4 separate regions of the Homo sapiens genome follow, and regions 2, 3 and 4 are each linked to region 1. Evidence: promoter capture Hi-C in human tissues and cell types (Jung and others, 2019). All regions are on one chromosome and are shown on one strand. The core of a region is centred on a gene start or on the middle of the fragment in contact, and the rest is flanking DNA. Distances in the headings are between cores, read along the strand shown. Region 1 holds the start of GAP43 (growth associated protein 43). Region 2 overlaps GAP43 (growth associated protein 43). Region 3 has its middle 41 kb from the start of GAP43. Region 4 overlaps GAP43 (growth associated protein 43).

Region 1 (3,252 bases), core at 222-2,721:
CCATCTCTTGCACCCCACCCCTAAGGCAATCAGTCTGCGAAGGGCTTCTTTGACCAAGATTGCCCCCACCACACCCCCACCCCCACCACAGTCAAGCATACGCACACACTCACCCGTATCCCACACCCATTTTTCTCTTTAACCTTTGCCAAAATCACTCAAATGCATTCCAACAAATGTTTGAAAGCTTCTTTTGGAGACTGCCATGGCATGGTCGGTTGCTGCGGAATACCACACTCGTCATTCCTTCCCACTCTCACCCCAATCAAGTTTCTAAAATGTCTTTCAAGAAATAAGCGAGCAATTGGAAATGGCTGTAAAACCTGGGCAGTGGGGGAGGGAAGGAGGGGCTCTGATTCTTGCTAATCTTGGATGTGTCCCTCTTCCTGATGAAAATGAGTCACCATACTTATTATCCAGGATGTTAGCCTGTCTCTGGTCACTGACAATCCCAGGAAAGAAGCAAGGGAAGGGGATAAGAGAAAAGACCTGGTTTCCAACAGGTAATACCCGGCTGTCTTTCCCATCCCATCGGAGCTCCTAGGGGCGTGGTCCACCCTCTCCTCCGACCAGCTGGTGCACAATCGGCTGCTGATCTTAGGAAGGGGATTTTCTCCTTCTGCATGGCCAATTTCTCCCCCAGCCCCAGTTGTCTTAGCTTCTCTTAAAAAAAAAAAAAATCTATCAAATCACAGTTTCATTCATTCATTGAAAAATAAATACTAAATAAATAAGACCTGCACGTTTTTCCATAAATACCTGCGCCCCTTCGAAGCTCATGCATGCACGAAATAAGGCATCTTCCGCAGCACATGTGAGAAAATTGTATGACAGAGAGGCAATACTCAGTTCTGAATATTATTTCCTCAACCCTGCTTTTTTGCAAATAATATAAAGAAATGCCTCCCCATCTTGTAGGTAGAGCCCACATCATCTCCCCCACACCCCTTTCTACGTCCACACCCTCAAGACCAGAGACCTCAAATGCTGAGCATTCACTAATAAGAAAAAAAAAAATTATTTCTAGCCAAACAGGCATGTTTTTTCTACCCTCACCCTAATTAGTAGCAGCATTCCAAAACCAGAGCATGAAAGACAGAAAAGAATAAAAGCTGGGATGCAACCATCAGTTACCATATGCTAAGGAAGCGCGAGCACCACGGCCAGAGCAGAAGCAGTAAAAAAATTGTTTGCCTTTACGGGGAAATACTGTACTCGGGTTATTTCACAACAGCAAGAAGTAAAAAATCTTTAGCTCTACCTGTTTGGTTCTTCTCATACAGCACAGCATGGTTGTCTCGTCCCTTGCCTTCTTCCTGCCTTCTCTCCTTTCCTTCTCTCTCTTTCTTATTCCCCCCCTCTCCACCTCTTTTCTGCTCGCTTGCTCACTCGCTCTCTCGCGCTAGCGCGCTCTCTCTCCCTCCCTCCCTCTCTCTCCCTCACACACACCAGGGCAGTTAGCAGCAACTGTAAGGTCCACAGCTATTGCTCATCGCACATGCTCGCTCCCTCTCTCTAGCGCTCTCTCTCTCTCTCCCTCTCTCTCTGGTGCTCTCTCTCCGCTGTCCTCTCTTCCCTCTCTTCTCCTTTTTTCTCCTTCCCCCCAATATCTATCTATCTGTCTTTTTCTTCCCTCTCTCTCCGTCTCTTTCTCGGAATTGTTCTCTAGCCTTCAGTGACTAATCACTTCCCCCAGCCCCTACCCCCATTCTAGACAGTCGCCCCCTCCCAGTCCCCTGCCAGCCTCATGAATATTTAAACACCTCCAATCTGGACCCAATTACCCACCGACTTTTCCACTGCATTGAGAGGGTGATGGGGTGGGGGCAGAGAAGGATATTCCAGTCAATCCAGGAGATATGATAGAGCATGTTTTAGGGAAGAGGGGCTTGAGGAATCCTTGTATTTCTTTAAGAACTCTTTTCCTCTTTTCCTAGTATTATAAAAGCAAAGAACAGCTATTTCTAAAGAGGAATTGTAGTCAGTCCTATACAATATAAGTCATATCTGCCATTACATTTTATGCATAGTTAATAATTGTGGAGGTTAATTTCCCTCAAAAAATGAAATAACATGTAAATATCATACACTGTTTATATATTCTTCTCAGTATACATATAACCTGAAATAAATACAAAGCTTAGATATGCACAAGCATATTTTATATATGTTCCAATATCCTGGAAAAAAATCCACATAAATATATTGCATTTTAAACATTCTAAGCACTTGAGCTCAGAAATAATAAACAATGTTTAAGAATTGGCATCCATATCTAAAATCACATGGTAGTTTTTTGTTTTTTCCTTAATGCACATATACCTGTTTGTAAATTGTGGTTTCTTCTAATTTTACTGAAAAAGCTGAGCACATTCAAACAGGTCTGTGTAATATTGACGGTGATCAAAATGATATTTTACAATTTGGGCATGAGAGATTAAAGTGAATTCATCTGAGATGAGAAGAAACGATAAGTCATGAAGCCTACTTCTTGAATTCCTTCTATGGCCTTTCATAATTTTGGGGGAGGAACATGTGACTCTTAAAGTGTGTATAGCACAATTTTTAGTTATTTATTGTTGAATGAGTTTGAGTGTGTTACTGAAGCTCTTTGCACCTAATTTTCTCATCTTTAAAATGGAGATAATAATGCCAATCTTGACAACATGTTTTGAGGACTAAATGATATAACGCATGCAAAGCACAACAGTCTCTCTGAGTGTATAATAGCTTTACTCCAGAGACTGTACTTTTCTGAAATTCGGGTGACATTTGCAAGTGAATATCTCAAAGAAGTTTTCAAACTATTTCTTGTTGTTCATTAGTGATGACAAGTACCCCTAATTAAACAGCTCATATTCTTCATAGTCCCTCCTAGACCTCCTAGACATAAACCTAGCTAATAAGTGGCAACTAGGCAGCTTATTGTTAGGCATATTTCAGGATCACTGAGCTCAATAAGTGCTTAGTACATTTTAACATAATTTAAGGTATATCTATTTCAAAATGGACTATCTCAGACAGGTACCTGGGAACGATGGTGATGATGATACCCAGGAGGTGATATTTAAAATTAGCCTTAATTATTCCTCAGGAGTCTTCCTGAGAGTGGCCTGCTTCAGATCCGCTGATTTGGTCTTTCATTCTTCTCAGTTTGCTTCCTAGTTTTCATATTTATGATTAAAAAACAGAATTAGTTTCTGAGTTTAATAATTTTTTAATGTTACAAGGAGCCCAGCCGCTTTCAGAACA
Region 2 (3,252 bases), core at 337-2,836, 63 kb before region 1:
GAAACCTCATCTCTACCAAAAATCCAAAAAATTAGCTGGGCATGGTGGCACACTCCTGTAATCCCAGCTACTCGGGAGGCTGAGGCAGGATAATCGGTTGAACCCGGGAGGCGGAGGTTGCGGTGAGCCAAGATTGCACCACTGCACTCCAGTCTGGGTGATAGAGTGAGACTCCATCTCAAACATAAATAAATAAATAAATAAATAATAAAAAAATTTCGTTAGTAACCCTGGGTGAGTCACTCAAATTCCATTTTTTTATGGTTTATACTACAAGTCAAATTTTAGAATTTGAGCAGTATCTGTTTGTAAAATAAACAATTCAAGCTAAGTACAGATTGGATGCCTGCCTGAAAAGATGAGTTTTGAATTATGTTGAGTTTTAATCTTGCCAAGATTGAAGACCTTTTGAATTTGGTCTTAAGTTTAAAACAGTAATTTTTAATTATTATTAGTTAAAATGTGAAATCAAAGTTTAACCAAGATCACGAAATAGTTTGGTAGAGGTGTAGGGGATTGCGAGATAGGACCCCAATCCTAGGAACCCAATCCTTGTTAACCTGGCCTCTGCAAAACAACCGCAATTCCCAGAAACTACTGCTGAGATGCTGCTCCATGGAACTCCAGGCTCCAGCAACACAACTCAAAGTTCATTGATTGAGGATTCTAGAAAATAAATTTTCTTTGGGATTATGATTTGTAAAATATCATTTAGAAAATAAATTCTGCATGGTTTTAATACCAGTGGAACTAAAATTAAATGGAACAGTGGTTAGTTGCCTAAAGCCATGTTTAGAAGTTACTCACACCAGTCCTATCTGCGACTACACAATAGGACTGTAATATGAATCAATTTTCTGTTGACCTTATAAGTAATACACAAAATCTACTATATCATCAATATGGGTGCAGTTATCCATACTCATTGTGAAGATCAGCTTACAGTAAATGAGATCGATTGGCATTGACTCTTTTATTGCTGTCCACATGTAGACAATAAGTAGCTGAGAAATTTCTGAAATTTGCATTTTTCAAACTGTACTTCAAGGCTCAGAAATGATCTACCTAGAGGGTAGGGATAGATGCAAAAAAAAAAAAAGAGGGGGGATTTCAGGACATCTTCAGTCATCTCCACTTTCCCCTATCATTCTCAACCAAAGCTTCTCTGCTTTGGGGTTTAGTGTATATATTTTAAACTCATTTGAGCAAATAGTGCCTAGGCTAACAATTTTGAAAATGTCTGCCTTCAGCAATTACTTACTCATCTGATTCTACCTCTGTGAAGACATTGTTTCACAATGTTCCTCCTAGCACGAAAAGCATCTTTCTCACTAAAAATTAGTATGAGGGAAGGAAATAGTCAACTCTTCCTCTGCATTAAATGTTAAATGGTTGCAAATCAATCTGAACCCTGAAATCATCTCCGAAAAACCAGCTGAGAAGAACTATTGCCTCCATCAACATGTCTATTTTTAAATTTTCCTTCTTTTCTTATGAAAGAACATAATAATTTTCAAACTAAGTTAATCATGAGAAAGAGGTTTTAAGAAAATTCTAAAATTTAGTATTTTGGGTTCCAAGATTTGAGAATTTTATATCTGATGATTACTTTTAACTCATGTTTAAAGTTCCTAAGTATCCATTTTATTATAACCTCATAAATATAATAAATTATGCACTTTCCTTTAAAAAAAGATGAAAAGCCTTTCAATGCATTAAAAAGATACAGCTCAGATCAAATTTTGAGGACAATGTACAAATTCCTTCAGTAGCAATTGCTTTTCTAATTGAATACAAGAATACCAATTCTAAACTTTACTTTTCTTCCTTAACCTTTAGCAAGTGTACAATGCTCAACAGAAATGACTGCGAATGTTGAAAGTACTTCTCATGGCATCACATATATATGTACATAACTATGTGGTTTTACAAATGTATATTTATATGCTTCTACACTGATACATTATTTGGAAGTTGATAATTACTATTCTTAGTATTTTAGAATTATCAAAATAAAATTAATCAAATTGCTAAAATATAATGATCTGGGGTATGCTGGAGCTGACTAACGTTGGCTGCTGACAGCAAGATATTAGCACTTCTTCCCAACTGCTTATTTGGAGATTACACATTGGTAGCCTGAAATCAGCTAGGATGGGAGTATTTATACCATAGAAATTGGCAAAAACTACAAATAAAGGCTGTTAGAGTTTTGTTTTATTTTTTGGAGAGCCAGTTTACCAGCATGCCGCTGCAGATATCTGATAAAATCATAATGAATGGTTTACACCTTGGTGGCAAGAAAAAGAAAACTAACATATCTTCCAATAGGGGCCAGGTTCTCTTATGAATCTATTATAATTAAACCACCAATATCAAAGGAAGAGGAAGGAGGAAATAAAAAAAATCTTCCACCGCTGGTTTTCCTTCTAAAAGGATTTGATTACACCAATGGGGAGAACACTGAAACCACATTACTGAACTCTGCGCTTTCTTAGCCCTTTAAACTGGAATAGAATTTCACAAAGTGGGGCACATTCTGTCTTTTTACCAAATACATGAGGGTGACTTTAAGTTGCAGTTTTTGTGTAGGGAAGAATCCTTTCAGCCTCCCACTGCAATGTCCCTCATGGTCTGTAATCTGAATAGCTCACAGGCTGTACACAAATTATGTTTGCATTAAGGAATGGGAAAGCCTGTTTACTGGTCTGTGTCCCAACACTGTTGGTTTGGGAACACAATAACAATTCACCCTACAGTGGAGCAACAGCAGGTTCAATAGACTCTTACACACCTTGCAAAGATTACTTAATTGTGTCAGATGAGGAAAGGAAGCCAAGGAACCTGGCAAATCATTTCTTCCCTGGGTGTTTCTGTCACACACTAGCAAGGGCCACCCACAGGTCATTCATGTGGCTGGAGTGAAATTAATCACCTGCTTTCAGTAGGGAGCAGCCTTGACTTCCTCTAGTTCTCAATATGTTTCTGAATATAATGCAAAATGCTCACACTGGTCTATGAAGCCCTAAATGGTTTGAATTCTGGCAACCTCAGGGATGACTTACAGGCCTGAGTAACACTAAACTTTCCAATGAGCTTCTGTATTCATTTTCCTGGGTCAGTTTAGGATTTTATCTAAGGCATAATATTATTCATTCAAAGTATTGTCACAGATGCAGGAAAAGCAACAATAAACAACACAGACATGAAGCTACTTTTTCCACTGAAGGTTAAAAAGCTGCTGCAGAATTA
Region 3 (3,252 bases), core at 432-2,931, 41 kb after region 1:
AATTATGCATTTCAATGCACAAATCATCACAGATTTGATCAGAGAGAGCCCTTTCAAGTTGGTCATTATGTCCTTTTAACAGGTCGACATCTTTCGTTTAAAAAAAAATTACTTCTTTACTTTGTAGCACCGTAAGATATTCTAAGTTCATCTTGTATTTTCCTTGCCCCAACCCTAGAAGCAGTCCTCTGTGTGTGTGTGTGTGTGTGTGTGTGTGTGTGTGTGTGTGTGTGTGTGTGTGTTTAATGAGGGAATGGTATTTACAAACCCAAATCTAGACATAAAATTAGATTTTAAAAGATATTTACTGTTTCTTCTGTTGTGGTTAAGTGCCAGTTTGGACAAATTTAATTGTCCGTGTAGTCAAACAGTGGGTGATCTATATTGGCAGGCCTAGTATTATAAATCTTAACAAAATTGTAAAATACTACTGCATTTCTTCTATTTTAAGATACTAAGATGCACCATAGTTTTAATAATAGCTTCTTGGAGGGTGGAAGGAGGGTAAAAAACTCCACATTAAGTGTTCACATTGATTATAAGGCATCTACTAGTTTAAAAAACATCAAGATGTGAAGAAATTTGCATCTAAGAATCAAGAAAATAAGCAATTTGTTTCAAAGAAAATCATATCATTATAGCTTCATGTAGAATCTTTCAAATGATTTAAGGAAAGCATTGAATAATATTATAAATAGCTTTGTTTATATTAATCCTTTCTCTTTTACCCTTAACTGTATATTCTTTCATATTTGGTAGGTTGTAATAAAAATTCAGGGGATAGGTCAAAAGAATCTACTTTATTTTTTAAAGATACATGAAAGATAAGAAGAAGCTACAGCCAGGTCTACCCCTCAATGATTGGGCTTAAAGAAGATATTACTAGAAACATGTTAATTTGTTTTATATTTTCTCGTGTGTCTACATTTTAATACGTCTGTTGTATCATCTCAATGGCTTCGAAAACCAAATGTATATTAATAATAAGAAGAAGAATACCTCACATATAAATAGGACTTTATGTTAAACACATTACAAAGGCAATGTTATTAAGGGTAGCATAATGTATTAACTAACTAGAATTTTATTGCCTAGGACAAGTTCCTCCTCTGCTACTTACTAGATTTGTACCCTTAGGCAAATTACTTATCCTTTCTAGGCCTCAGTTTTCTCATCTGTCAAATGAAAATAATACCCTAAAGGAAACATATCCTAAAAGTCATTGTGAGTATAAAATGAGACAATTCAGGGAAAACACACAGACCAGTACAGTGGTTGGTATTCAGTAAGCCTCTCAGTCAATGTTACATAACGAAAAGTCGTTCAAAGACAGAGGTTTGTATCATTCCAATATCTCAAATGAATATTTTCTTTTTACATCCCTTATAAGACAATTTAGTACATTTTTCTATTTGTGAACCCAAATAGAGTCAATAGTGTAATGGCCCAACGGGTTCTCCTTGCCTACTGCCTAGACGGAGCTAATTTATCAAGCCAGGGGAATTGCAATAGAGAGTTTAATTCAACAGAGCTGGCTATACAGGAGACGGGAGTTTTATTATTACTCAAATCAGTCTCCCAGAGAATTCAGGGATCAGAGTTTTTAAGGATAATTAGGGGGATGGGACCGGTGAGTTGGGAGTGCTGATTGGTTGGGTCAGTGATGAAATCATAGGGAGTTGAACCCATCCTCTTGCACTGAGTCAGTTCCCAGGTGGGGACCACAACACCAGATGAGTCAGTTTACCGATCTGGATGGTACCAGCTGATCCATTGCGTACAGGGTCTGCAAAATAGCTCACTCACTGATCTTAGGTTTTACCATAGTGATGTTATCCACAGGAGCAATTTGGAGAGGTTCAGAATTTTGCAGCCTCTGGCTGCATGATTCCTAAACTATAATCTCTAATCTCGTGGCTAATTTGTTAGTCCTTCAAAAGCAGTCTAGTCCCCAGGCAGGAAGGGGGTTTGTTTTGGGAAAGGGCTGTTACCATCTTTGTTTCAAAGTTAAACTATAAACTAAGTTCCTCCCAAAGTTAGTTAACCCTATGCCCAGGGGTAAACAAGGACAGCTTGGAGGTTAGAAGCAAGATGGAGTCAGTTAGGTCAGATATCTTTCACTGTCATTGTTTTCTCAGTTATAATTTTTGCAAAGACAGTTTCAATAGGAAGAATCTTCTTAAGTTCTAAGTCAGGAATATGAATTAGGAAGCTGCACCAAGGTGAACAAGTACACCTACCTATGATGGTTTAATTATCTCTTTGTTTTACTCACCACCAGCAGGTCCTAGACTGACAAACCTATCCTGTGTTCTCATCTACTACTCTCCCATCTATAGGAAAACAACGATTCTCAGAAGCCATTGGTTTAAAAGACTGAGCAAACATATTTGAGACGCAGATAAGCAGAGAAAAGAAAAAAAGAGCACACACCCAACAAGTTTAGATTGCCCCGTCTCTCGCTCAGGTTTAGATTGCCCTGTCTCTCTCTCGAGTTGTGTCGCTCCGGCTGACTCACACTCTGTCATAGTGCTACTCATAAAGAGTCCTGAGGGTACTTAACCCAGGACAATACCACACAGATGATTAACATCAAAGAAAGAAGAGAGACATTCTTTATCATCCATGATAAGGGATTCACAATTTCCCCTTTAATTCTTTAATTGGCCTTTCTAATTAGAGGGATTTGCTGCTTTATTTGGCAGTAGTTGGCTATGATCTGTATGGTTTCTGCAACACTAAGCTTGATTGTTTGCATCTTAAAGGGATTCTGGGGACTCCCTACCCTTTCAGGGATTTCTTTGATGCTCTTCAAGGGTTTTAGAGAACTGAGGTCAAGGATGATCCACTAGCATGCAGAAGGAAACTGGGACTCCACCATTTATTTCAGAGCAGTTACATCACTCACTCTGGCTCAACTCCCATATTGTCAAGTGAAGCAGTGGATGAAGCAAGAAATGTGATCAGGCTGCCGCAGGTCCCCTGCCATTTGCACAACTCTTGTCCTAGGAAGTTTTAACATTGGATTTTTCAAAGTTTTCACCAAACTAAAAGCTGACAAAGAACATAAATTGTTTGGAAAATATCACAGCATGTGGAGGTATGTGGGAAATCAGCACGAAACATAGTTTACTAGGGGCTGTACTATAATGCTCCTTAAATACATAAGGTTAGTACAGAAAATGTAATTACACAATCATCATAAGAAGCAATTTGTAACAATTAACTCTTCAGGGAGGCCTGTTTCCACCT
Region 4 (3,252 bases), core at 317-2,816, 47 kb before region 1:
TTACACAGAATTGTTGATATCTGCGAATTAAGTAAAGAGGACATTCCAGTGCAGTACATTATAGGTAGGAAGGGTGTCATTACGAGTTACCATAAGTTTTTCAGGAATCTTTATTGTTATGGCTTAATATTTTTTACTGACTGATTTGTTTGAGAGCTCTGCAATTTATGAAGTCTTAAAGGAAACCAAGGTGTAGGACATCCCTACTTTTTAAACAAACATTAAAATCTCAGATGAATATTGGTTGGAAAAAATGAAGAGTACCATTACACTAACTTGTTGACACTAATGAAACTTCTAAATCCATTAGATGAATGAACAATGATTTTAATTGATATTTAAGAATTACAGATAAGAAAGCCAGAAATAAGAAGTAATTACTTAAGTATCCAACATTGTTGCTCTGGTCTTCTTTTCCTTTGGGGAAAGGAGGAATGGACAACTTAAGATTTATTCTAAAATGTCCAAACATTTGCATTCAATATGTTACAAAAGAGCTCTAGGCAAAAATCCATGAATGGCTAACTTTCAGAACTAAAAATAACATCATCCATTCATCTGGGATACCTCAATGCATTTCACTTTTCCCAGTTATCATAGGAATGCCTCAACCTTCCAAGCAAATTAAAACTTGGCCCTATATCTACTTCTGCTAGCTATAAATAGTACCATTATAATACTTAAATTTTTAAAAAATAGTATTGAATTTTAAATGCATTACAAATCATTGATGTACACATATTCTTCTTTCTGAGAACATCTTTAGTAAACCAAAATATAGTTCATTTGATCAAGCAAAGTTATTTTTGAGAACAAACTTGAAAGGCCGGAGATATCCTAAGCAATGTTTTTTTAAATATGTTGTAGTTTTCATGCCTATCAGAATCTTCTACAGCCTGTAAAGGAACCAGAATAAAGTGTTGATAAATATAAATAAAATCTGGGAAGTACCTACTTATGGCCCACTTTATTTTTTATTAATAATTTATTGAGGTGAAAGTCACATAACAAAATTTCACTCTATTTTTAAGCATCATTGATACCATGGCAATTGACTTTAGGGAAAATGTGCAAGTATTAAAGTAGTTCACAGTGGAGCTTCTGTACTTTCTTTAAACCTAGACAAAGATCAAAAATACAGTAAAATACCCCTTAGGGAGGAGAGAGAAGACAGTGGGCCAGCCTCCTCCAGTTCTATAGATGGAATGTCACTGCCGGTTTCGGTGCAGGTGTAAGGAAGAAAGTGTCCTTTAAAAAGATGAAATGTCCAACAATGATAGACTGGATTAAGAAAATGTGGCACATATACACCATGGAATACTATGCAGCCATAAAAAATGATGAGTTCATGTCCTTTGTAGGGACATGGATGAAATTGGAAACCATCATTCTCAGTAAACTATTGCAAGAACAAAAAACCAAACACCGCATATTCTCACTCATAGGTGGGAATTGAACAATGAGATCACATGGACACAGGAAGGGGAATATCACACTCTGGGGACTGTGGTGGGGTCGGGGGAGGGGGGAGGGATAGCATTGGGAGATATACCTAATGCTAGATGACACGTTAGTGGGTGCAGCGCACCAGCATGGCACATGTATACATATGTAACTAACCTGCACAATGTGCACATGTACCCTAAAACTTAGAGTATAATAAAAAAAAAAATTAAAAAAAAAATTAAAAAAAAAAAATAAAAATAAAAAGATGAATAAGCACAGTGGGCATACACCGGATCCCCCAACATGCAGTCTGGTTTGAAGACCTCATACCTAGGGTATGAGGGGAATGGGGAGCAGAGTGCGCAGAGAAGCAATGAAACTGTATAAGAAAACAAAATATCTCATATTGGAAACTGCAGTAGTAATGTTAACTTTTCAGATAAGAGCTGGTGATCAAAAGATGGGTCTTCAGTCCACTTTAATGTATTATTTATTCAACATGTACAGCCCACCTGCTTCCAAAATAATATGAGGTGGTATCTTCAACATAGTATAAAGCATTATCAGAGTAGAACTCAGTTTCCAGTCTGAAAAGTTGTTTTCTTTTATTTTGTATATCTATAACCCTATTATGTCCCACAAAGACATAGAAGAGGTAAATAATGTATTGCAACTGATGCCTTCAAACAGAAAAAAAGTCAGCCTTTGAGAAGTACCTTGTCTATTTTACTTAGAGCTGAATGCCAGTTTCTAGAATGGTGCCTGGCACAAAGTAGATGCTCAATTAATATTTATTGGATGAATCCAAAATCTGAGCATCTCCATTAGTGCTATTTCAGAAAGATGATGACAGGTGAAGAAATCTGGATTCGATTTTGTCAATTTTTGTTAAAATCCTTCACTTCTCAGTGGTGGAATTCAAGAGCATCTAACTACAACAGGTATATGATTCCCCAATTATAGAAATTAGTAAGCAGAGGTTTAACAAGAAAAGAAATAGCAAAGCTATAGAAACGCCATTGATCATAATAATAAACAAGCACTTGAAAATAATAATACATCTAAGATAAAGACAACTGATTTATATTTATCTATTGACTCGTTAGAGTCATATCAATAAAATTATTTTTCTGTGTGTGTGTGTGTGTGTGTGTACTTTTTCTTTCTTTTTTTTTTTTTAGACAGGGTCACTCTCTGTCACCCAGGCTGGAGCGCAGTGGCACTATCTCAGATGACTGCTGCAGCCTTGACCTCCCAAGCTCAAGCAATCCTTCCACTTCAGTCTCTCAAATAGCTGGGGCTACAGCTATGTGCCACCATGCCCAGCTAATTTTTATATTTTTTGTAGAGATGGACAACATTTCACCATATTACCCAGGCTGGTCTCAAACTCCTGGACTCAAGCCATCTTCCTGCCTCGGCCTCCCAAAGTGCTGGGATTACAGTGTGAGGCACTGCTCCCTGCTTATATGCGTTTTCACTAGCAAAACTGGTGAAAGTGGCTGGGTGCTGTGGCTCATGCCTGTAATCTCAGCACTTTGTGAGGCTGAGGTGGGCAGATCACCTGAGGTCAGGAGTTTGAGACCAGCCTGACCAACATAGAGAAACTCTGTCTCTACTAAAAATACAAAATTAGCCAGGTGTGGTGGCACATGCCTGTAATCCCAGCTACTTGGGAGGCTGAGGCAGGAGAATTGCTTGAACCCAGGAGGCGGAGGTTGCGATGAGCTGAGATCACACCATTGCACTCCAGCCTGGGCAACAAGAGCGAAACTCCGTCTCAAATAAATAAATAAAAGTGGTGAA

Evidence for each region. Contacts are between HindIII fragments. The study calls those that stand out against the background at their distance.
Region 2: a contact is called between a fragment that was not itself captured here and the fragment with the promoter of GAP43 in region 1, in 1 of the 25 tissues and cell types used here (mesendoderm cells).
Region 3: a fragment that was not itself captured here is called in contact with the fragment with the promoter of GAP43 in region 1 in 2 of the 25 tissues and cell types used here (neural progenitor cells and pancreas).
Region 4: a fragment that was not itself captured here is called in contact with the fragment with the promoter of GAP43 in region 1 in 1 of the 25 tissues and cell types used here (thymus).

Annotation. Positions count from the first base shown.
Region 1 is chr3:115,621,729-115,624,980 of GRCh38, reverse strand. It overlaps GAP43 (growth associated protein 43), which reads right to left and starts at 1,471. Exons shown (of 3, transcript NM_002045.4): 1 at 1,262-1,471. The coding sequence starts at 1,291. The HindIII fragment of the contact is 4,830 bases long and covers 1-3,252 here.
Region 2 is chr3:115,684,963-115,688,214 of GRCh38, reverse strand. All of the region lies in intron 2 of GAP43 (growth associated protein 43), which reads right to left. Among named protein-coding and RNA genes, the nearest start is that of GAP43, 63 kb to the right of the region's middle. The HindIII fragment of the contact is 8,363 bases long and covers 1-3,252 here.
Region 3 is chr3:115,581,195-115,584,446 of GRCh38, reverse strand. No RefSeq gene overlaps it. Among named protein-coding and RNA genes, the nearest start is that of GAP43, 41 kb to the left of the region's middle. The HindIII fragment of the contact is 6,224 bases long and covers 1-3,252 here.
Region 4 is chr3:115,668,418-115,671,669 of GRCh38, reverse strand. All of the region lies in intron 1 of GAP43 (growth associated protein 43), which reads right to left. Among named protein-coding and RNA genes, the nearest start is that of GAP43, 47 kb to the right of the region's middle. The HindIII fragment of the contact is 4,688 bases long and covers 1-3,252 here.